Linked DNA regions of Homo sapiens: regions 1, 2, 3 and 4 are each linked to region 5. The links are contacts of gene promoters, found by promoter capture Hi-C in blood cells and fetal thymus (Javierre and others, 2016). All regions are on one chromosome and are shown on one strand. The core of a region is centred on a gene start or on the middle of the fragment in contact, and the rest is flanking DNA. Distances in the headings are between cores, read along the strand shown.

What was found. The method cuts DNA at HindIII sites, captures the fragments that hold promoters and counts their contacts. A CHiCAGO score of 5 or more calls a contact.
Region 1: a fragment that was not itself captured here is called in contact with the fragment with the promoter of UBE2W in region 5 in 2 of 17 cell types (non-activated CD4 T cells and M2 macrophages); the score reaches 5.9 in non-activated CD4 T cells.
Region 2: a contact is called between a fragment that was not itself captured here and the fragment with the promoter of UBE2W in region 5, in 2 of 17 cell types (activated CD4 T cells and neutrophils). The highest score is 7.8, in activated CD4 T cells.
Region 3: a fragment that was not itself captured here is called in contact with the fragment with the promoter of UBE2W in region 5 in 2 of 17 cell types (activated CD4 T cells and neutrophils); the score reaches 11.8 in activated CD4 T cells.
Region 4: a contact is called between a fragment that was not itself captured here and the fragment with the promoter of UBE2W in region 5, in 4 of 17 cell types (megakaryocytes, erythroblasts, M1 macrophages and 1 more). The highest score is 8.2, in megakaryocytes.

What each region holds. Positions count from the first base shown.
Region 1 is chr8:73,661,125-73,665,805 of GRCh38, reverse strand. The region is part of intron 6 of STAU2 (staufen double-stranded RNA binding protein 2); the gene reads left to right. Among named protein-coding and RNA genes, the nearest start is that of STAU2, 83 kb to the left of the region's middle. RefSeq lists a silencer at 38-332. The HindIII fragment of the contact is 9,464 bases long and covers 1-4,681 here.
Region 2 is chr8:74,011,576-74,015,840 of GRCh38, reverse strand. The region is part of intron 3 of LY96 (lymphocyte antigen 96); the gene reads right to left. Among named protein-coding and RNA genes, the nearest start is that of LY96, 22 kb to the right of the region's middle. The HindIII fragment of the contact is 4,449 bases long and covers 1-4,265 here.
Region 3 is chr8:74,026,801-74,031,029 of GRCh38, reverse strand. LY96 (lymphocyte antigen 96) reads right to left here. Exons shown (of 5, transcript NM_015364.5): 4 at 4,189-4,229; 5 at 1,951-2,074. The coding sequence ends at 1,976. Among named protein-coding and RNA genes, the nearest start is that of LY96, 38 kb to the right of the region's middle. The HindIII fragment of the contact is 911 bases long and covers 943-1,853 here.
Region 4 is chr8:73,680,802-73,685,426 of GRCh38, reverse strand. All of the region lies in intron 5 of STAU2 (staufen double-stranded RNA binding protein 2), which reads left to right. Among named protein-coding and RNA genes, the nearest start is that of STAU2, 64 kb to the left of the region's middle. RefSeq lists a silencer at 3,436-3,636. The HindIII fragment of the contact is 3,262 bases long and covers 799-4,060 here.
Region 5 is chr8:73,877,585-73,882,126 of GRCh38, reverse strand. It overlaps UBE2W (ubiquitin conjugating enzyme E2 W), which reads left to right and starts at 3,265. Exons shown (of 6, transcript NM_018299.6): 1 at 3,265-3,319. The coding sequence starts at 3,305. LINC01617 (long intergenic non-protein coding RNA 1617) reads right to left here and starts at 3,145. Exons shown (of 3, transcript NR_147034.1): 1 at 1,430-3,145; 2 at 1-100. RefSeq lists silencers at 3,033-3,322, 3,463-3,512, 3,533-3,792 and enhancers at 3,179-4,056, 4,533-4,542. The HindIII fragment of the contact is 3,471 bases long and covers 2,266-4,542 here.

The DNA of each region.
Region 1 (4,681 bases), core at 692-3,191, 210 kb after region 5:
GCTTGAGCAGCCATGGATTTTGGTATCTGTAGGGGGTAAGGGTGAAGGTCCTGGAAACAATTCCCCACAGATAACCTAGGGATGACTGTATTTGTACCAGCAGTGATATGAACAGTTACAAACCTACAGTTTTGGTTTCTGCCACCAGATGGTGCTTGTATACTGATCAAACAACATACAGACTGGGTGAGCTCACTTTGGTTACTATTCCAAGGCCATTAAATTAGAGGTTAAACCGTATGAAACTGCCAATATTTGACGTTTCTTTGACCTACAAATATGTCAGTTTCATATGTTCAACCCAATAGGAAAAAGTCATCCAAGTATACAACATTAAATTCTCTTGGATAAATGAAGTAAGCATAAAGTGGTGAAAAGCCCAATTTGTTTCAATAGATATAGAACTTTGCCTTTTGTATACTACATCCCTTGGTTTGGGGAATATATTCTTTTCTCTTTTCTCATATGCTTTACACATGGAATGTGTGTCAGAACTCTTAAACTGATTCTACTTCATGTAGATATCACTTTATAGAATAGATGTAGAACTGAAAGATAGGCAGCAAGGTAACTTTTTAAATATTTTGTTAAAAATAATGTTAAATTATTAACATTAATGTTAAATTAGGATTTTTTTTTATTTGGGAGAAATTAACCTAAACCCATAACAAAGACGCATTAGAAATGTCTTTTTAAAACTCTCATAAACCAGAGAAGAAAATTTGAACAAGTTACCAAAGCAAGGATGAGGAAGAGTGAACTTAAGATCAGTATCCCCCATGGTCACAGATATAAAAATTATTATTATTATTTTTTGAGACAGTCTTGCTCTGTTGCCCAGGCTGGAGTATAGTGGCCTGATCTTGGCTCACTGCAACTTTTGCTTCCCAGGTTCGAGCGATTCTCATGCCTCAATTTCCCGAGTACCTGGGACTACAGGCGCATGCCACCACACCTGGCTAATTTTTTGCATTTTTGGTAGAGACAGGGTTTCAACATGTTGCCCAGGCTGGTCTTGATCTGCAGACCTCAAGTGATCTGCCCACCTCGTCCTCCCAAAGTGCTGGGATTACAGGCATGAGCCACCATGCCCAGCCAGATAAAAATTCTTAACAAAATATCAGCAAATTAAATTCAGCCGAATTTAAATAACATTATGATTAAATGAAGTTTATTCTAGGAAAGCAAGATGAATTTAGTATTCAGTAATCAAAGTAATTAACCCAATTAATAGAATAAAGGAGAACAACCATATCAGTATCTCATTAGGTGCAGAAAAAACATTTGACAGAAGTCAGCGCTCACTAATGATATAGACTCAGCAAACTAGGAATGGAAGAGAACTTTCTTAATCTGATAAAGGGCTTCTTCAAACAACCTCCAGATAACATTATGCTTTATAGTGAAAGACTGAATACTTGTAAGATCAGGAACAAGGCAGTAATACACACTGTTATCACTTCTGTTCAACATTATACTTAAGGACTGGTACGGTGGCTCATGCCTGTAATCCCAGCACTTTGGGAGGTCGAGGTGGGCAGATTGCTTGAGCTTAGGAGTTTGAGGCCAGCCTGGGAAACATGACCAAACCCCATCTCTGTTGGCGTGTGCCTCTAGTCCCAGCTACTTGGGAGACTGAGGTGGGAGGATTGCCTGGGCCTGGGAAGTCAAGGCTTCAGTGAGCTGTGATCGCCACTGCATTCCAGCCTAGGCAACGCAGTGAGACCCCACCTCAAAAAAACAACAAAGAACCCCACATTATACTTGAGTTCTATCAAGTGCAACAATAAGAAGAAACAAATGGGGGAATATTGGAATAGGAGATATAAAACTATCTTCATAGACACCATGATTCTGTATGTAGAAAATAATAAATCAAAAGTACTGAAAAGCTACTGAATAAGTGAATTTAGTAAGGCCACAAGTTGCAAGGTTAGTATACAAAAATCAGTGGTATTTCTAGTAAATAGTAATGAGCAGTTGGGGAATTAAATAGCGTGAAAACATATTCAGAGATAAATTTAATAAAATAGGTACACAACCTGTATAATGAAGGCTATAAAATACTGCTCAAATTAAAGAAGACTCTATTATTTAAGATTTCAGTTCTCTCAAAGTTGATGTGAAGATGCAATGCAGTTGTAACAAAAATCATAGTAGAGTTTTTTTTTTTTTGGTAAAATTAATAAAGTAGTGCTGACATTTGGAGATGCAAAAAAACAATTTGGCTACTGCAAATTGTTTTTGCAGTAGCCAAAGCAATTTTGAAAAGAACAAAATTGGCTGGCCCACACTACCTGACTTCAAGATTTGCTATAAAGCTACAATAATCAAGACAGCAGAAAATTAACATAGGGACAGATATATGGATCAGTGGAACAGAATAAAACAGCAGTTGGCAAACTATAGCCCATGGGTCACGTCTGGCTTGCCTGTTTTTGTATGGCTTGCAAGCTAAGTAATGTTTTTTACATTTGCAAGTGGTTGGAAAAACATCAAAAATAAAATGATATTTTACAACACATGACATTTAGATGAAATTGAAATTCTAGTGTGTGTCAGTAAAGTGTCATTGGAACACAGCCACAGTCACTTGCTTATGTGTTGTATATACTTGCTTATTTATAGTCTGCTTTTGTGTTACAACAGCAGAGTCGAATAGATGTAATAGATCATATGGCCTGCAAAGCCCAAAATATTTTATATTGGGCCCTTTACAGAAGTTTGCTGATCTCTGGAATATGGAGGCAAGAAATAGATCAATCCATATATGAACAATTTAATTCTTTCAAAATTAATTCCAGTGAAGGTGCTAATGGGGAAAGGATACTCTTTCCAACAAATAATAGTAAAATAATTGGCCTTTCTGACAGAAAAAAAAAAGAACCTGGGCTGGGCGCGGTGGCTCATGCCTGTAATCCCAGCACTTTGGGAGGCTGAGGCAGGTGGATTACCTGAGGTCAGGAGTTCGAGACCAGCCTGACCAACATGGAGAAAACCTGTCTCTACTAAAAATACAAAATTAGCCTGGCATGGTGGCGCATGCCTGTAACCCCAGCTACTCAGGAGGCTGAGGCAGGAGAATTGCTTGAACCCGGGAGGCAGAGGTTGTGGTGAGCTGAGATTGTGCCATTGCACTCCAGCCTGGCAACAGGAGTGAAACTCTGTCTCAAAAACAACAACAACAACAACAACAACAACAACAAAAACCCCTGAACCTTGACTTCACACCACAGACAAAAATAAATCAGAAATGGGTCATAGACATATATGTAAAAGTTAAAGTAAAATTTCCAGAAGAAAATACTTTGCTACTTTGGAAATAGACAAAGATTTCTTAGAACACAAAAAGCACGGATCATGCAACAATTGAGAAATTACATGTCATCAAAATTTAAACATGGATCATGAAAAAATTGAGAAATTATAAGTCATCAAAATTTAAACTTCTGGTACTAGAAAGACACTTTTTACAAAATGAAAAAGCAAGACATATATTAGAAGGAAACATTCGTAATACATATATTTGAAAGAGGACTTCAGAATATATAAAGGAATACCTACAACTCATTAATAAGGCAAAAATGGACAATATTTTTGAATAGACAATAGAGATAAGAATGGCTAATAAACACATGAAAAGATGCTCAAAGTGATTAGTCATCAGGGAAATGCAAATTAAAACCATAGCTAAAGTTTAAAAAGACTGACAACACCTAGTGTCATGGTGGGGCAACTGGAAGTCTCATATATTGCTGCTGGGGATATAAAATGGTACAGGCACCTTGTCAGAGTTTATGATGTTCTTATGAAGTTAAGCATGTAGTACTTATCTTACCACCCAGCAATTCCATGTGGTATTTACCTAAGATAAATGAAAATATATGGCCATTCAAAGACTTATACATGAAAGTTTGTAGCATTTTTCTTTATAATAGCCCCAAATTGGAAACAACCCAAATATCTACCACTAGGTAAATGGTTACACTGTAATGTAACCATGACTTGGCATACTATTCAACAGCAAAACTTGTGATTCATCCAATGATATGCATGAATCTCAGAAACAATATGCTGAGCAAAAGAAGACAGGACAGATACATAGTGTAGGTACTGTAAGATTCTATTTTTGTGGAATTCTAGAATAGGCGAAACTAATCCGTAGTGACAGAAAGAGGTTCTTTGATTGTCTAGATTTGGGGCTGGGAATTTCCTATACAAGGAAAGTTTTGGGGGTGATAGAAATGTTCTGTATTTTCATTTTGGTGATTGTTAATATGAGTGTATGTCAAAATTCATCAAACTCTGAGCCTAAAATAGGCACATTTCATTAAATGTAAATTTTACCTCAATAACATTGATTTAAAAAATAACATTTTGTAATCCTCCATTTTCTTTGAGGCTAAAAATATTTATAAGAAAGCGCCAGATTTTTGCTTCTCAAGCATTTGGCCAAAAACATTGTAAATGTTTTTCTAGAGGTTAAAATAATATTTACCTTATAGGGTGTTTGAGGACAGAATGATAGGCTGGTTCAGTTGCTTAGCTTCTGCCTTTGTGCACTGATTGTTATTATAATTGTTAGCCTTTATTGCATTTTAGCTTGTTTAGTTACAAGTACAAACTCTGGAGTTGGAATCATAGTTATGTGGATTTGAGCAGGTTATTCGACTTCTAATTC
Region 2 (4,265 bases), core at 965-3,464, 130 kb before region 5:
GAAGAAGGCAAGAGGGAACTGAGGCAGGGCGAGGGAGAACAGAACCCCTTCTTAGGCTCTCCTCTCCTCTTCTCAAAAGGTATCCATGCAGCTCACTCATGGTCCAGTCTAGTTTTCCTGGCAGCTATGCAGGGGGCGGGATCTGAGCCTCAGATGGTATTGTACATTGAATTGTGTCCCCCAAAAAGATATGTTGAAGCCCTAACCTCCAGTGCCTGTGAACATGACCTTATTTAGAAACAGGATCTTTGCAGATAATCAAGTTAAAATGAGGTCATTAGGGTGGGCCCTAGTCCAATATGCAAGTGTCCTTATTAAGAAGGGGAAATTTGGACACTGAGATAGACAAACATAGGAGGGAAGACCACAGTGAAAGGACCCAGGAAGAAGATGACCATCTACAAGGCAAGACATGCCTTAGGCCACCAGAAGCTAGGAGAGAGGCCTGGAACAGATCCATGCCTAGCTCCTACAGAGGGAGCATGGCCTCGTTATCTTGGTTTCAGACTTCTGGACTCCAGAGCTGTTACATGATAAATTTCTGTTTTTCTAAGGTATTCAGTTTATGGTACTTAGTAACAGCAGCCCCAGCAAAATCCCGGTAACAGAACTTACAGGCTTATGAATTTTTTTTTAAACAGGATCTTGCTCTGTTGCCCAGGCTGGAGTGCAGTGGTGCAATCACGGCTCACTGCAGCCTCCACTGCCCAAGCTCCAGTGATCCTCCCGCCTCAGCCTCTCAAGTATCTGGGACCACAGGCATGCACAACCAGACCCAGCTAATTTTTGTATTTTTGGTAGAGACGGCATTTTACCATGTTGCCCAGGCTGTTCTCAAACTCCTGATGTCAAGCAGCCCACCTCCCTTGGCCTCACAAAGTGCTGGGATTGCAGGCATGAGCTACCGTGCCCAGCCCAGGCTTATTAAATTTAAGATGCTTTGAAATATCCATCCATTGATTCATAAATGTGTTTTTGAGAGAAACAGATATATGTGTGTGTGTGTGTGTGTGTGTGTGTGTGTGTGTAAACTGGTGAGATTATGGGTAACTTTTACTTTATAATTGCTTGTCCATATTTTCTAAATATCATATCATAAAGATGTATAACTTTTATAACAACCAAAAGGAAAATTATTTTAAACATAGATATGTATGGTACTTGCAAATTCGACTCCCAAATTTCAAGGGTCTCTTGATACGTCAATGCTTCTTAAATCAGAAAGTCCTAAGTTCTGGGCCCACATACTCAGCTGCCAGATGGCCATGTTTATTTGAATATTCCAAAATTACCTTGAGCTTAACATGCCCAAGCCAGAACTCATTATGTTTCCCTTTAAAAAAAAAAAAAAAAAAACCTGCCTGTTCTTTTGTACACATCATCTCAGATAATGGCACTTCCATACATCCAGTCACTGGCCCTCAAGTGTGGTGCTTTTTTTTTTTTCTTTTTTTTTTTTTAAGTCAGGGAGTGCAGCGGTGGATCACAGCTAGCCAAGACCTCCTGGGTGCAAGTGATCCTCCCACCTCAGTCCCAAGTAGCTGGACTAAAGGCTGGTACCACCACACCCAGCTAATTTTTTTTTTTTTTCAGAGATGGTGTTTCACCTCCTTGCCCAGGCTGGCCCCAAACTCCTAGCCTCAGCCTCCCAAAGTGCTAGGATTACAGGCACCCAGCCCAAGAGGGTCTTGATTTTACCTAATCCTTGCCTGCCACATTAAATCAGTGTATCCTGCCTATTCTGTCTCCCAAAAATCTCTCTTTCATCTCCTCCCTGCTACTCCCTGGCCGCCGTCTCGTTCAGCCCTCATGGTCTCTCACAGAGCCTCCTGGATGCTCTTCCTTCCACCCAAGTTTCCTGCCTCAGCCTACCCCCACCTCCTGCCATATGGATGCTAGTTATCTGTAAAAATGGAAATCTCAGTGGGTCATCCCTGCCCACTGACTATAGGATACCGGCCAATATTTTGCGCATGAGTTACATGCTCACACTGCCCCCTTTTCTAGGCTCATCTCCAGCAATTCCCCACAAGCACATTCTGCTCCAACTACAAAAAAACTACTCTCCAAATAAACCATACTCTTTCATGACTAGATGTGTTTGTACATGCTGTTTCCTCTCCAGGGAATGTTTTTCCCCCTCACCCTCTGATGTTCTCAGATTCAAGACCCTAATAAAATACTCTATTGAAGGCTTGTCTGACCAGCCTGGGCAACATAGTGAGACCCTGTCTCTACAAAAAATTTAAAAATGTCCAGGAGCAATGGCTCACACCTGTAATCCCAGCACTCTGGGAAGCTGAGGCAGGAGGATCACTTGAGCCCAGGAGTTCAACACCAGCCTGGGCAAGATGGTGAGACCTTATCTCTATTTTTTAATTAAAATAAAATTAAATTTAAAATTAGGGCCAGGTGCGGTGGCTCACACCTGTAATCTCAGCACTTTGGGAGGCACTTTGGGAGGCCGAGGCAGGCAGATGGCCTGAGGTCAGGAGTTTGAGACCAGCCTGGCTAACATGATGAAAACCTGTCTCTACTAAAAATACAAAAATTAGCCGGGCATGGTGACACACGCCTGTAGTCCCAGCTACTCGGGAGGCTGAGGCAGAATCACTTGAACCCGGGAAGTGGAGGTTGCAGTGAGCTGAGATTGTGCCATTGCACTCCAACCTGGGTGACAGAGTGAGATTCTGACTCCAAAAAAAAAGAAAAAAAAATTAGCTGGACATGGTGATCTGTGCCTGTAGTCCTTGCTACTCAGGAGGCTGTGACTAGATGATGACTTCAGCCCAGGAGTTTGAGGCTGCAGTGAGCTATGGTTGCACCACTGCACTCTAATCTGGGTGACAGAGCCACAAGATAAGATCTTGTCTCAAAAAAAAAACTTATCCCAGTTTTTCTGCCACAGTTATTTAGTAATTATATAGTTAAAACCAATAACATATAGTTCTATTGCTAATAGAACTATATGTTATTTACATACACCTTTTTACAATAAATTTACAAAAAATTTACAATAATTTTACAAAAAAATTATATGTAAATATAATTTTATTGTATGGCAATGGCTCATACCTATAATCAATTTACAATAAAATTACACATAATTTTATTATAAATTTTGTTCTTATAACTGTCTTTCCCAGAATGGAGTGACTTTTTTATTTATTTATTTATACTGATTTACCAGGTACATGTGCAATCTCATTACCTGCATAGGTTGTGTAGTGGTCAAGTCAGGGCTTTTAGGGTGCCCATCACCCAAGTAACATATACCCATTAACTAATTTTACATCATCCACCCCCTCACCCTTCCAACTCTTCACTATCATTCCACTCTGTAGTACATGTGTACACATTTTTTAGCACCCACTTATGAGTGGGAACATGCAATATTTGACTTTCTGTGCCTGGTTTGTTTCAGTTAAGATAATGGCCTCTAGTTCCATCCATGTTGCTGAAAAATACATGATTTCATTTTTTTAATGGCTTAATAGTATTCCATTGTGTAAATATACCACATTTTATTTACCCATTTGTCTGTTGATGGACACTTAGGTAAATTCCATATCTTTGCTATTGTGACTAGTGCAATAAACATATGAGTGCAGGTATCTTTTTGATATATTGATTTCTTTTCCTTTGAGTAGATACCTAGTAGTGAAATTGCTAGATGGAATGGTGGTTCTATTTTTAGTTCTTTGATAAATCTCCATATTGCTTTCCATAGACTATACTAATTTACATTCCCACCAAAAATGGATGAGTTCTTTTTTCTCCATATTCTTGCTAACATCTGTTACTTTTTGTCTTTTTAAGAATAGCCATTCTGGCTGGGGTAAGATGATATCTCATTGCAACTTTAATTTGCTTTTCTCTGATGATTAGTAATATACCTATTGACCATTTCTATCTGTTCTTTTGAAAAGTATCTATAAGTGTCTATTCATGTCCTTTTCCCACTTTTTTTTTTTTTTTTTTTGAGATGGAGTCTCACTCTGTCACCTGGGCTGGAGTGCAATGGCATGGTCTCGCCTCACTGCAACCTCCACCTCCTGGGTTCAAGCGATTCTCCTGCCTCAGCCTCTCAAGTAGCTGGGACTACAGGCGCATGCCACCACACCTGGCTAATTTTTGTAGTTTTAGTAGAGATGGGGTTTCACTATGTTGGCCAGGCTGGTCTCGAACTCCTGACCTCATGATCCACCTGCCTTGGTATCCCAAAGTGCTGGGATTACAGGCGTGAGCCACTGCGCCTAGCCACT
Region 3 (4,229 bases), core at 149-2,648, 150 kb before region 5:
TCCAAAACCTCTTCCAGCCCCATGCAACAGCTAAGTCCTCTCTGAAAGTAAGCTGGTTCAAACAGGGCCAATATGCCCAACAACCCATGGGTACTCGGGGATTCTCCATGTTCTCTCCAGAAAGCCTGTCCTCCAAGTCTTATAAGGCTGGCAGCCATGCTAATCATTTTTAAATGGCTGAAGGTGGCCCAGTAGTTGGTTTGATTTGGTTCTTAAATGGAGGCTGACAGCCTTGAAATGTAAGGACAGAGTTGGAGTCTGCTCCTCTGCTCACCGTTTCAATGAATGTTGTACTTTGGTATCCCAGATGAACCTCCAATATGAAGCTGCTACGTTGTCTGGAGTATAAACCCAGGGTTTGTCATCTTTCACCAGGAAAACTTAGGACACAAACACACACGAGGAGTTTAGGAGTGGAGGTTTAATAGGCAGAAGAGAAGAGAAAGAGAAACAGCTTTCTCTATATAGAGAGAGGGGTCTCCAAGCAGAAAAGACCCCATCCTTTTGTTTCTATAAACTTCACCAAAAACACTTCTGTCGCCAGGCTGGAGTGCAGTGGCACAATCTTGGCTCACTACAACCTTCACCTCCCGGGTTCAAGCGATTCTCCTGCCTCAGCCTTCCAAGTAGCTGGGATTACAGGCGCATGCCACCAGGCCCAGCTAATTTCTGTATTTTTAGAAGAGACAGGATTTCACCATGTTGGCCAGGCTGGTCTCAAACTCCTGACCTCAGGTGATCTGCCCGCCTCAGCCTCCCAAATTGATGGGATTACAGGTGTGAGCCACTGCACCCAGCCTTTTTAATGTAAATTCTTGGTAAACAACTCAGAAACTCCCTCTTCTTTCCCTTTAAAAACCCTCTTGTAACTGCTGCTAATTTATGGAGTATATATTCAGGGCAACTCAAGTTGCCATGCTCCCAGGATGCAGTCCTCAAGCTTGGCCCAAATAAACTCTCTACTTACACTAATTCTGTCTCAGCTTCTTCCTTTTAGGTCAACACTGCTGTATTAGTCCATTCTCACGCTACTATGAAGAAATACCCAAGACTGGGTAATTTCTAAAGGAAAGAGGTTTAGGTTGGGCGCAGTGGCTCATGCCTGTAATCCCAGCACTTTGGGAGTCCGATCACCTGAGGTCAGGAGTTCAAGACCAGCCTGACCAATATGGTGAAACCCCATCTCCACTAAAAATACAAAAATTAGCCAGGTGTGATGGCAGGTGCCTGTAATCCCAGCTACTTGGGAGGCTGACGCAGGAGAATCACTTGAACCTGGAAGGCAGAGGTTGCAGTGAGCCGAGATGGTGCCACTGCACTCCAGCCTGGGTGACAGAGTGAGACTCCATCTCAAAACAATAAATAAAATAAAGGAAAGAGGTTTAACTGACTCACGGCTCTGCAGGGCTGGGGAGGCCTCAGGAAACAATCATGGCAGAAGGGGAAGCAAACGCGTCCTTCTTCGTATGGTGGCAGGAAGGTGAAGTGCAGAGCAAAAGGGGTGGGTGGGGAAAGCTCCTTATAAAACCATCAGATCTCATGAGAACTCATTCACTATCATGAGAACAGCATGGAGGTAACCATCCCCATGATTCAATTACCTCCCACTGGGTCCCCCATGACATGTGGGGATTATGGGAACTACAATTCAAGATGAGATTTGAATGGGGACACAGCCAAACCATATCAATTACTTACCCTACCTTGCCCATTGCTTCCTGTGGAAAACATAACAAACACTCTTGCCCACATTCTTCCCCTCCCTCCACATTCTCACAGACACTGGTGCTTCCCCAGGTGGCTCTGCATGATGCACCATGCCTCCGTTTCCTAGAGATCTGTGAGGATAAGCTTCTTTCTTCATGACAGTCATTTCTGTGTCTTCCTATCCTACCATATCTGATTAAAACAAATCCTGGGTACCCTTAAAACAGGAACAATACCTTTAAATTTTTTTTTAAATACTCAATTTATTCTAATTTGAATTAGGTTGGTGTAGGATGACAAACTCCAAGCAAAAGAGCATTTCTTCTGGGCTCCCAGAAATAGCTTCAACAACACATTTGTATTTTCCCTAAAATGAAGTATAAGAAATACAAGTAATACAAAATGTTAGATGCTACTATTTCAGAGGCTTTGTAAGAACTTTCTCTTACTAGCAGAAAGCCATTTAAATTGGATTGATTTTATAGTTTTCCAATGAGACGAAATTTTCCATGTCTTTGAATTAAATGAGCATAAAGCCCATTTATTTCCCAATTATAAGATTATGTTATTTTTAAAAACTAACCTAAGAGGTTTTGAAATATTAGATATTAGTTTATAACAAAATAATGAAAGAATATGCATTATTAAATTTTATTTTAAAATGGTCACCATAAGTAAAATGCATAAAATCTCATTACTAGATATGTCACGCAAATATCTAGAATCACAATGGTATTATTCATTGAGGCAGCAATTATTTTTACAAAGGCATGGATGACCAGACTAAGTTCCCAAAAAAATCTTGAACAAAAAAAGTCTGTAATTTATGTGATTTTTATTCTCCTAAACAATGTTCACATTATATTTACATGAATAGTTATAGAGATTTACTGGCTTATACACAATGGTCATCCAGTGCTTTCATCTGAAGACTGTTCAACAGATTAGTAATGAGCACTTGCATTCAAATTACTTTTGCCCATGTATGTTAGAGGGAAAAAAAAATGAAGCGGAAAAAAATGCTATGTTTTGTGCAATTTTTCCATAGTCTACAGAAAGAAAAAATACCAAAAGACCTAATACTAAGGCTGGGTGTGGTGGCTCACACCTATAATCCCAGCAGTTTGGGAGGCCAAGGCCAGGTCTCACTAACAACTGTTTCAGTACTGAGTGGTTAAGTTAAATATTTAAAGCCAGCGCCCTTATGCAAAGGATGGGATGTAACAAAAGCCCATCAGGAGTTTTGCCCAGGCCCTTCCTTTAAGGCTTTCTTAAACCATAACAAAATAACTAAGAAATTCTTAATAGGACCCATTTAGGATCAATCGAGTTTTATTGTGGGTCCGAAGAAACTCCCCAGGCTTCCACAACCAAGTTTACTGGGGGTCTGAAGGAACTCCTCAAACCTCCATGATTTAGCAGGAGACAAGATAAAGGTAATCACCCCAGCACCCAGACCCATTTAGATTAAGTAAAGTTCCTGAGGCTCCAGATGAAGGTCTTCAGGACTCAGACCTTAATTATAGATTAAAAGAAGTTAATCACTTGTGTCTTCAGATGAATGCACACTTACACATAGACATATACCTTAGAATGTATATAAGCTCTGAAAACTTTGTAATTTTGAGTTGGTCTGGCGATAATTTCCAGACCTTCTCCCTGTAACCAGTTACAGAAATAAAAGCTCTCTTCCTCCCCAGTTCATCTGCATCTTGCTATTGGGCTGCGAGAAATGGCAGCCCGACCCTCAGTTTGGTCCAGGAACAAAGGTGGGTGGATCACATGAGGCCAGGAGTTTGAGACCAGCCTGGGCAACATGGTGAAACCCCATCTCTACTAAAAATAAAAAAATTAGCTGGGCATAGTGGCATGTGCCTGTAATCCCAGCTACTCGGGTGGTTGAGGCACAGAATCACCTGAACCTGGGAGGCGGAAGTTGCAGTGAGTCCAGAACACACTTCACTCCAGCCTGGGCAACAGAGCAAGACTCAGTTAAAAAAAAAAAAAAAAAGCTAATTCTAAATAAAAGTGAAAGAAAAAACCCTGAACATCTTAATCTCGAACTGCTATTCATGAAATTGTCAGCTGGGCACAACTGCCCATACTTGTAATCCCAGCACTTTGGGAGGCTAAGCGGAGTGGATCGCTTGAGCTCAGGAATTCAAGACCAACCTGGGCAACATGGTGAAACCGCGTCTCTTCCAAAAGTACAAAACATTAGCTGGCATTGTGGCATGGACATGTAGTCCCAGCTAGTCAGGAGGCTAAGGCAGGAGGATTGCTTGGGGTGGGGGTTGGCGGGTGGAGGTTGCAGTGAGCAGAGATCGTGCCACTGCACTCCAGCCTGGGTAACAGACTGAGATCCCATTTAAAAAAAAAAAAGAAAGAAAAAGGAAGAAGTTGTGAATTGCTTGTTTCAAATGCTTAACATGTCTATTACTGCTAAAGGTTAGACAGTACAAAATAAATCTTGAACAATACCTTAGAAAATTTTATTCCCTTGAAGGAGAATGATATTGTTG
Region 4 (4,625 bases), core at 1,180-3,679, 200 kb after region 5:
CCAGCCTGGTGACAGAGCGAGGCTCCATCTCAAAAAAAAAAAAAAGAAAAAAAAAGTGTTTCTTTTCACCACATCCACGCCAACATCCTTTATTTTTTTATTTTTAAATTATGGCCATTCTTGCAGGAGTAAGGTGGTGTGTTAGTCTGTTCTCACACTGCTATAAAGAACTTCCTGATTCTGGGTAATTTATGAAGGAAAGGAGGAAGTTTAATTGACTCACAGTTCTATATGGCTTGAGAGGCCTCAGGAAACTTACAGTCATGGTTAAAGGTGAATGGGAGGCAGGCATCTTCTTCATAAGGTGGCAAGAGAGAAAAAGACTGAAGGAGGAACTTGCCAAACCCTTACAAAACTATCAGATCTTGTGAGAACTCAGTCACTATCATGGGAACAGCAAGGGGGAAACCGCCCCCATGATTCAAATTACCTCCACTTTGTCTCTCCCTTGACACATGGAGATTATGGGGATTACAATTCAAGATGAGATTTGGGTGGGGACACAGCCAAACCATATCAGTTGGTATTGCATTGTGGTTTTGATTTGCATTACTCTGATAATTCATGATGTTGAACATTTTTTCATGTTTGTTGGCCATTTGTATATTTTCTTTTGAGAATTATCTATTCGTGTCCTTAGCTGACTTTTTGATGGCATTATTTTTTTCTTGCTGATTTGAGTTCCTTGTAGATTCTGGATATTAGTCCTTTGTCAGATACATAGTTTGTGAAGATTTTCTCCTACTCTATGGGTTGTGTGTTTACTTTGCTGATTATTTATTTAACTGTGCAGAAGCTTTTTAGTTTAATTAAGTCCCATCTGTTTATCTTTGTTTTTGTTGCATTTGCTTTTGGGTTCTTGGTCATGAAGCCTTTGCCTAAGCCAATGTCTAGAAGAGTTTTTCCAATGTTATCTTCTAGAATTTTTATGGTTTCAGGCCTTGATTTAAGTCTTTGATCCATCTTGAGTTAATTTTTATATCAAGTGAGAGATGAGGATCCAGTTTCATTCTTCTCCATGTGACTTGCCAATTATCCCAGCACCATTTGTTGAATAGGATGTCCTTTCCCCACTTTATATTTTTTGTGTGCTGTGATGAAAATCAGTTTGCTCTAAGTATTGGGCTTTATTTCTGGGTTCTCTATTCTGTGCCATTGGTCTATGTGCCTATTTTTATAGCAGTATCGTGCTGTTTTGGAGACTATAGCCTTATAATGTAGTATGAAGTCAGGTAATGTGATGCCTCCAGATTTGCTCATTATGCTTAGTCTTGCTTTAGTTATGTGGGCTCTTTTTTGGTTCCATATGAATTTTAGCATTGTTTTTTCTAGTAGTGTGAAAAATGATGATGGTATTTTGATGCGAATTGCATAGAATTTGTAGATAGCTTTTGGCAGTATGCTATTTCCACAATATTGATTCTGCCCATCCAAGAGTTTGGGATGTGCTTCCATTTGTTTGTATCCTCTATGATTTCTTTCAGCAGTGTTTTGTAGTTTTTGTCGTAGAGTTCTTTCCACCTTCTTCATTAGGTACATTCCTAAGTATTTCATTTTTTTGCAGCTATTGTGAAAGGGTTTGAGTTCTTGATTTGATTCTCAGCTTGGTCGCTGTTGGTGTATAGCAGAGCTACTGACTTGTGTACGTTTATTTTGTATCTTGAAACTTTACTGAATTCATTTATCAGATCTAGGAGCTTTTTGGTTGAGTCTTTAGGGTTTTCTAGGTATACGATCATATCATCAGCAAACAGCAACAGTTTGACTTCCTCTTTATCGATTTGGATGCCCTTTATTTCTTTCTCTTGTCGATTGCTCCGGCTAGGACTTCCAGTACTGTGTTGAATAGAAGTGGTGAAAGTGGGCATCTTTGTCTTGTTCCAGTTCTCAGGGGGAATGCTTTCAACTTGTTCCCTGTTCAGTATAACGTTGGCTATGGGTTTGTTATAGATGCTTTTATTACCTTAAGGTATGTCCCTTCTATGCCGATTTTGCTGAGGGTTTTAATCATATAGGGATGCTGGATTTTGTAAAATGCTTTTTCTTTGTTGAGATGTCATGTGATTTTTGTTTTTAATTCTGTTTCTGTGGTGTATCACATTTATTGACTTGTGGACGTTAAACTATCCCTGCATCCCTGGTATGAAACCCACTTGTTCATGGTGAATTACCTTTTCGATACGCTGTTGGATTCAGTTAGCTTATATTTTGTTGAGGATTTTTTGCATCTATGTTCATCAGGGATATTGGTCTGTGGCTTTCTTTTTTTGTTATGTACTTCCCTGTTTTTGGTATTAGGGTGATAATGGCTTCATTGAATGATTTAGGGAGGATTCCCTCTTTCTCTGTCTTTTGGAATAGTGCCAATAGGATTAATACCAGTTCTTTTTTTGAAAGTCTGTTAGAATTCAGCTGTGAATCCGTCTGGTCCTGGGCTTTTTTTATTGTTGTTGTCAGTTTTAAAATTACCATTTCAGTCTTGCTGTGGTCAGTTCAGAGTTTCTGTTTCTTCCTGGTTTAACCTAGAAGGGTTGTATATTTCCAGGAATTTATCCAGCTCCTCTAGGTTTTCTAGTTTGTGTGTGTAAAGGTGTTCATAGTAGCCTTGAATGATATTTTGTATTTCTCTGGTATCAGTTGTTATATCTCCTGTTTGTTTCTAATTGAGCTTATTTGGATCTTCTGTCTTCTTTTTTTGGTTAATCTTGCTAATGTTCTATCAATTTTGTTTATCTTTTCAAAGAACCAACTTTTTGTTTTATTTATCTTTTGTATTTCTTTTGTTTCAATTTCATTTAGTTCTGCTCTCATCTTTGTTATTTCTTTTCTTCTGCTGGGTTTGGTTTGTTCTTGTTTCTCTAGTTCTTGAGGTGTGACCCTAGATTGTCTTATTTGTGCTCTTTCAGACTTTTTCATGCAGGCATTCAGTGCTGTAAACTTTGCTCTTAGCACCACTTTTTCTGTATCCCAGAGGTTTTGATAAGTTGTGTCACTATTATCATTCAGTTCAAATTCTTAAATTTCCATTTTGATTTCATTGTTGACCCAACAATCATTCAGGAGCAGGTTATTTAATTTCCATGTATTTGCATGCTTTTTGAGTGTTCCTTTTGCAGTTGATGTCCAATTTTATGCCACTGTGGTCTGAGAGAGTAGTTGATATAATTTTGATTTTCTTAAATATACTGTGACTTGTTTTGTGGCTTATGTGGTCTGTCTTGGAATATGTTCCATGTGTTGATGAATACAATGTGCATTTTGCAGTTGTTGGGTAGAATGTTCTGTATATATCTGTTAAATCCATTTGTTGTAGGGTATAGTTTAAGTCCATTGTTTTTTTGTTGACTTTCTGTCTTAACGACCTGTCTAGTGCTGTCAGTGGAATATTGAAGTCCCTCACTATTATTATTTTGCCCTCTGTCTCATTTATTAAGGTCTAGTAGTAATTGTTTTATAAATTGGGAACTCCAGTGTTAGGTGCATTTATATTTAGGATTGTGATATTTTCCTGTTGGACTAGTCCGTTTATCATTATGTAATGTCCCTCTTTGTCATTTTTAACTGTTGTTGCTTTAAAGTCTGTTTTATCTGATGTAAGAATAGCTACTCCTGCTGGCTTTTGGTGTCTGTTTGCATGAAATATCTCTTTCTACCCCTTTACCTTCAGTTTATGTGAGTCCTTATGTGTTAGGTGAGTCCCTTGAAAACAGCAGATACTTGGTTGGTGAATTCTTATCCATTCTGCCATTCTGTATCTTTTAAGTGGAGCATTTAGGCCATTTACATTCAACATTAGTATTAAGATGTGAGGTACTATTCTATCCATTGTGCTAGTTGTTGCCCCAATACCTTTTGTCTGTTTTTTCTCATTGTGTTATTGTTTTATAGGCCCTGTGAGATTTATGCTTTAAGGAGGTTCTGTTTTGGTGTATTCTGAGGCTTTGTTTCAAGATTTAATAATTCATTTTATTACTTCTTTAGTGCTGACTTGATAGTGGCAAATTCTCTCAGCATTTGTTTGCCTGAAAAAGACTTTTATCTTTCCGTCATTAATGAAGCTTAGTTTCACTGGACATAAAATTCTTGACTGATAATTATTTTATTTAAGGAGGCTAAAGATAGGACCTCAATTCCATCTGGCTTGTAGATTTTATGCTGAGAAATCTGCTATTTATCGGATAGGTTTTTCTTTATAGGTTACCTGGTGCTTTTGCCTCACAGATCTTAAGATTATTTCCTTTGACTTGACTTTAGATAACCTGATTGACTGTGTGCCTAGGTGATGATCTTTTTGCAATGAATTCCCTGGGTGTTCCTTGACCTTCTTGTATTTGGATGTCTAGATCTCCAGCAAGGCCAGGAAGTTTTCCTTGATTATTCCCTCTAAGTTTTCCAAACTTTTAGATTTTTCTTCTTCCTCAGGAACACCACTTATTCTTAGGTTTGGTCATTTAACATAATCCCAAACTTCTTGGAGGCTTTGTTCATTTTTTAAAATTCTTTTTCCTTTGTCTGTGTCAGATTGGGTTAATTTGATTAGGCCTTGTCTTTGAGCTCTGAAGTTCTTTCTTCTGCTTGTTTGATTCTATTGTTGAAACTTTGCAGTATATTTTGCATGCCTCTAA
Region 5 (4,542 bases), core at 2,016-4,515:
GGTATGTCCAGATTTTTTTTTTCTTCCAGGGAAGTGGAGATGCAGGTAGTTTGTGAGATGAGGGAGAATCTCCTCGTAAGCTGATGGACATTTCTAATAGCTGTGGAAATGAAAAAGTGAACATCATTATCAAATCTAACAAAAATAATAATTCCTTAATATCCTCTAATATCTACTCTATATTTAATTTTCTCCAGGTGTCTCAAAAATATCTCTTTTACAGTTTGTTTGAATCTAGATCCAAACAATGTTAACATATGCATTTGTTCAATGTACTCTTACGTGGCCAAGCATGGCCTGTAATCCCTGTAATGCCAGCACTTTGGAAGGCCAAGGCAGGTGGATCACTTGAGGCCAGGAGTTCGAGACCAGCCTGGGCAACATGATGAAACCCCGTCTCTACTAAAAATACAAAAAATTAGCCAGGTGTGGTGGCACATGCCTGTAGTCCCAGCTACTAGGGAGGCTGAGGCAGGAGAATCACCTGAGCCCGGCAGGCTGCAGTTGCAGTGGGCCAAGATCGCGCCACCGCACTCTAGCCTGGGTGACAGACTGAGACTCCGTCTCAAAAAAAATATATATATATATATAAATATATATATAAATATATAATATATATATTTTATATTATATATAAATATATATATTTATAATATATATATAAATATATATAAAACTCATATGATGCTATTAAGAAGATCCAGTAAGGATATGGGAAACTTTAACTTCATTATTGCCGAACTATTTTCCAAAGTGATTGCACTAGTGTCACTCCTATAGAGTTTATGAGAGCTCCACTTCCTCTCTCACTTTTGGTATTGTCAGATATTTTTTTTGAGACAACAGGGTCTTGCTCTGTCACCTAGACTGGAGTGCACTGGCATTATCCTGTCAGACATTTTAACTTTTGCCTATCTGATAGTAATGATAGTAAGCCTCGCTCTGTAGAAATATGAGCCTAGTCTTCAAACATGGCATAATAGTGTTTTAGATATTAACATTACATGCTCACTGGAGATAATTATATACCCCCCATACCATCTGTAAGTCACTGTTTTGGCTCCTATGTCAGGATCTTTTTATTAAATATTAACAAAAGAATGGCCGGGCGCAGTGGCTCACACCTGTAATCCCAGCACTTTGGGAGGCTGAGGCGGGTGGATCACGAGGTCAGGACTTCGAGACCAGCCTGGCCAACATGGTGAAACCCCCATCTCTACAAAATATACAAAAAAATTACAAAAAATTAGCAGAGCGTGGCGGTGTGCGCCTGTAATCCCACCTACTCGAATCACTTGAACCTGGGAGGCAGAAGTTGCAGTGAGCCAAGATCGCGCCATTGCACTCCAGCCTGGGTGAGACTGAGACTCCGTCTCAAAGAAAAAGAAAAAAAAAAGAAGACAGGTTATTATGTGCTATTTAGTATTACCTAGAAAGGATATGACTGGCATTGACTTTTCCCTCCTGAGAAGATACTTCTAACATATATGAAACCCAAGGGACCAGATATTGGATCCACTGTGATGAGTGTCAGAATTCTTGTAACCTCTTTTTTCCTTATTAGTATCTGTCATGCCAGGTTGTTGGCTCTGATGATGTCATAATGCTTTGTTTGTAGGGTCATCCGATGCTACTGTTTCCACAGGAACAATCAGCTTTTAGGCAAAGTGAACCTTGGACGGTAAAAGCTGATCTTCTGAGGTCATAGGAATAAATATATCTCAAAGAAAATACACTGGAAACTTCTTCTTTAAGTTTTCCTCTTTCATTGGAATATGTGGGTTTCCTCACTGTTGTAATGTTGATGACACAACAAGGCTAACACCGGATATGCTTCTGGCTGATTCCGGTTTACCAAGAGCATCCAAACATCCCTCAAGGACACAGTCATTTTGCACAACAAAGGGAAACTCCGCTCATTTCTGGCATTAAGGTGGACATCTGAGAAAGGGGAGGGTATACCACCATAACTTCTCTAGTGATGAATAGTGTTTAATATTATACCATAGACTAACTGGCGTATTTTAAAGATCTTTTTCCTTTTTGAACACATTTCAGATTAGAGAAGTTCCAGAGAACGTAATCTATTTTAAGAGTGTGAAAGAGTGATATTCCACATTGCTTTTATATCTTAAAGAAATTTCTAAAAAGAAAGCCGAGTCAATAAAATGACAGATTTTAAGCCTTCATTCTGGTAACATAAAAGCCTTCTACTCATTGTGTCTGCCACCTTAATTTTTAAAGATAGAGCATGAGGTGTAAGCTTTTGGCTTCCATTTTCCTCTTATAAACCAATGACATCTTCAGTTCCAGAATAGCTTTTTAAAAACGTGACTTCTGATAAATGTTGGCAGAACTGGTGCATTCCTAAAATAAATTATGTATGCTCAGCTTTCCCTACCCAAGTTCATCCCTAAATGACCACAAAACTGCCCACCACGAACTATGCTTAAGAGAAGTCTGGACATAATGGTATAAGTGTATATAACACGACATTGGTATATTTAAAAAAAAATTCATGCCTAGGGTCAATTCTGATAATCAAATTTAGACTGCTGCAACAACCGTAACTATTGTTGATATATGCGCAGTTTAAAAGTGAAGGGCGGGGGTAAGGGGCAGAAACTGCACACAACAAACTTCCAAATTTTGTCTCCCTTTTCAGGCAAGTTTCAGCTCCACAAATCTAAATACCCTCGCCTTTAAAATATCAGTGTCGTTCTGCTCTTAAATCCTCATCCCGTTGTACAAGGAAACCTATGTCTCTCTTCCCCAAATTAAGAATACGAGAAGCCTTCCAGGTCTGCAAATACCAGAAAGCAGCTGCGCATGAAGTTTTATGGGGCCCCAAGGCTCTGAGAGTGGGCTTGGAGGTATGGAAAACACATCCCAAGGGAAAAATCTGTGAACCGCACAACTGTGGTTGGAAACGAAATAGGAAAAAAACTGCGCGGAACCGGACGTCATCAGCATTTCGCGGTACACACGAAGAAAACAACCGTAGTCGGGTCAAAACTGGAGCCGTGTCTCCTCAGTAACGAGAGTAAATGGGGGCCCGACGCGTGAGCGGCCAGCCGGACTGAGACAGAAAGTACTCAGAGCGCCATTTACCGCGCCCTCGCCCCGCCCCGTAGCCCCTCCTCCCGTCCGCCCTGCGCGCCAGCCAATCCCCTCGCTCCATCCCCTTCCCATCGCAGACCCCGCCCCCGCGCCCGGGATGTTGAGCCCCCGCGGCGTGACGCGAGCACGGCAGCTCCTCCCCCTGCGTCTCTGGCCTCGCCGGTCTTGGGGGGATGGTTCCATCATGGCGTCAATGCAGGTGAGAGGAGTTTGCTGCATCTGGGCGGGCCAGGGAGCCGCCGAGAGAGTGCCAGCGTTCGGGCGGGGGTGGCGTCCGCGATTCGGGGACACCCGGGCGGGTTCGGGATCGGTCCGGGTGGCCTGTTTTCCCTCAGCTCAGGGCGTCGGGGGAGGGGTAAGAGGCGGCGAGAGGCGTTGTGGGGGGTGCGGTATCCGTCGGTCGAAGCGGACACCAGCCGGCCGGGAAGTTGGGTGATAAAGGAGGGTTGGGGAAGAAAGGGCAAAGTCTGGCGTTGGCGGTCTCAGAATCGGCTCCCCGCACACACACACGGGCGCTGCCAGTCTGCTGCCCGCCAGCCCCAGGGTTGCCTTTACCCCCGCTGTCCCTGGCCCGACGGAAACAGCTGCGCCCGCGGTTGTTGCCGGGGCAGGGGCGGCGGGGGGCTGAGTGTGCGGGAGCCGAGAATGCGTCTCCGGAGAAGGCGGCTGGCTGCGGACGGCGCTTAGCGGCCTCTGCTCCGGCCTCCCACGCCGGGCCCCCCAGACTGCTCGGCCCCGTCCCTCTCTTCTTCCCTTTGACTCTTAATCCTGTGCCCGTGGGTATCTTCTATTTCCATCAGCCTCGGTATTCTCGCGGACATTCCTCCAGCAGTCCACTGTCTCCTTCCTCTCGAAGCTGCCCCGTGTCCACCGCCTGATGGGCGATCTCCCGAGAGCCGAGTCCTCAGCCCCCTTAAACCTCTCGGGATAGCTTGCCTTCTATTTTGTTTCCCACTGCAAGGCCCCACCCTTGCGGTCGCGATAAGGCTATACATCTCTTTGCCCTTATTCCCAGACCTTTAGTGGAACCTTAGTTTGGTAGGAGGCGTTTGTTAACCTGTGCCATATCCCCCCGACTTAGCAAGGCGTGGTTTTCTGGCTTTCCAACTTAATTTACTCCTTTTTCCCGAATCTAGGGAGTTGTGGGTTTTTTTGTTTTTTGTTTCCAGGCAAAGATGGCAACCACAATTGTAGTTGTGCAGGGATTGAGTGCGTTATCTGTAGCCTGCATTTAATTCACAGGTGAAGACTAGCGGTATCAAAGGCATTGGAAGAGAAAGTAGAACGCTCAATAGGAGTGTCAGCTGAGTACCCTTTAGCGTTTTCATAATATCCCCTTGGGTAAAGAGACCACATTTTCTTAGAAGTGTTTTTTGCTTTTGTTTCTGGAAGAAGCAAGTCTCTGTTCCTCCTCCATTTTTT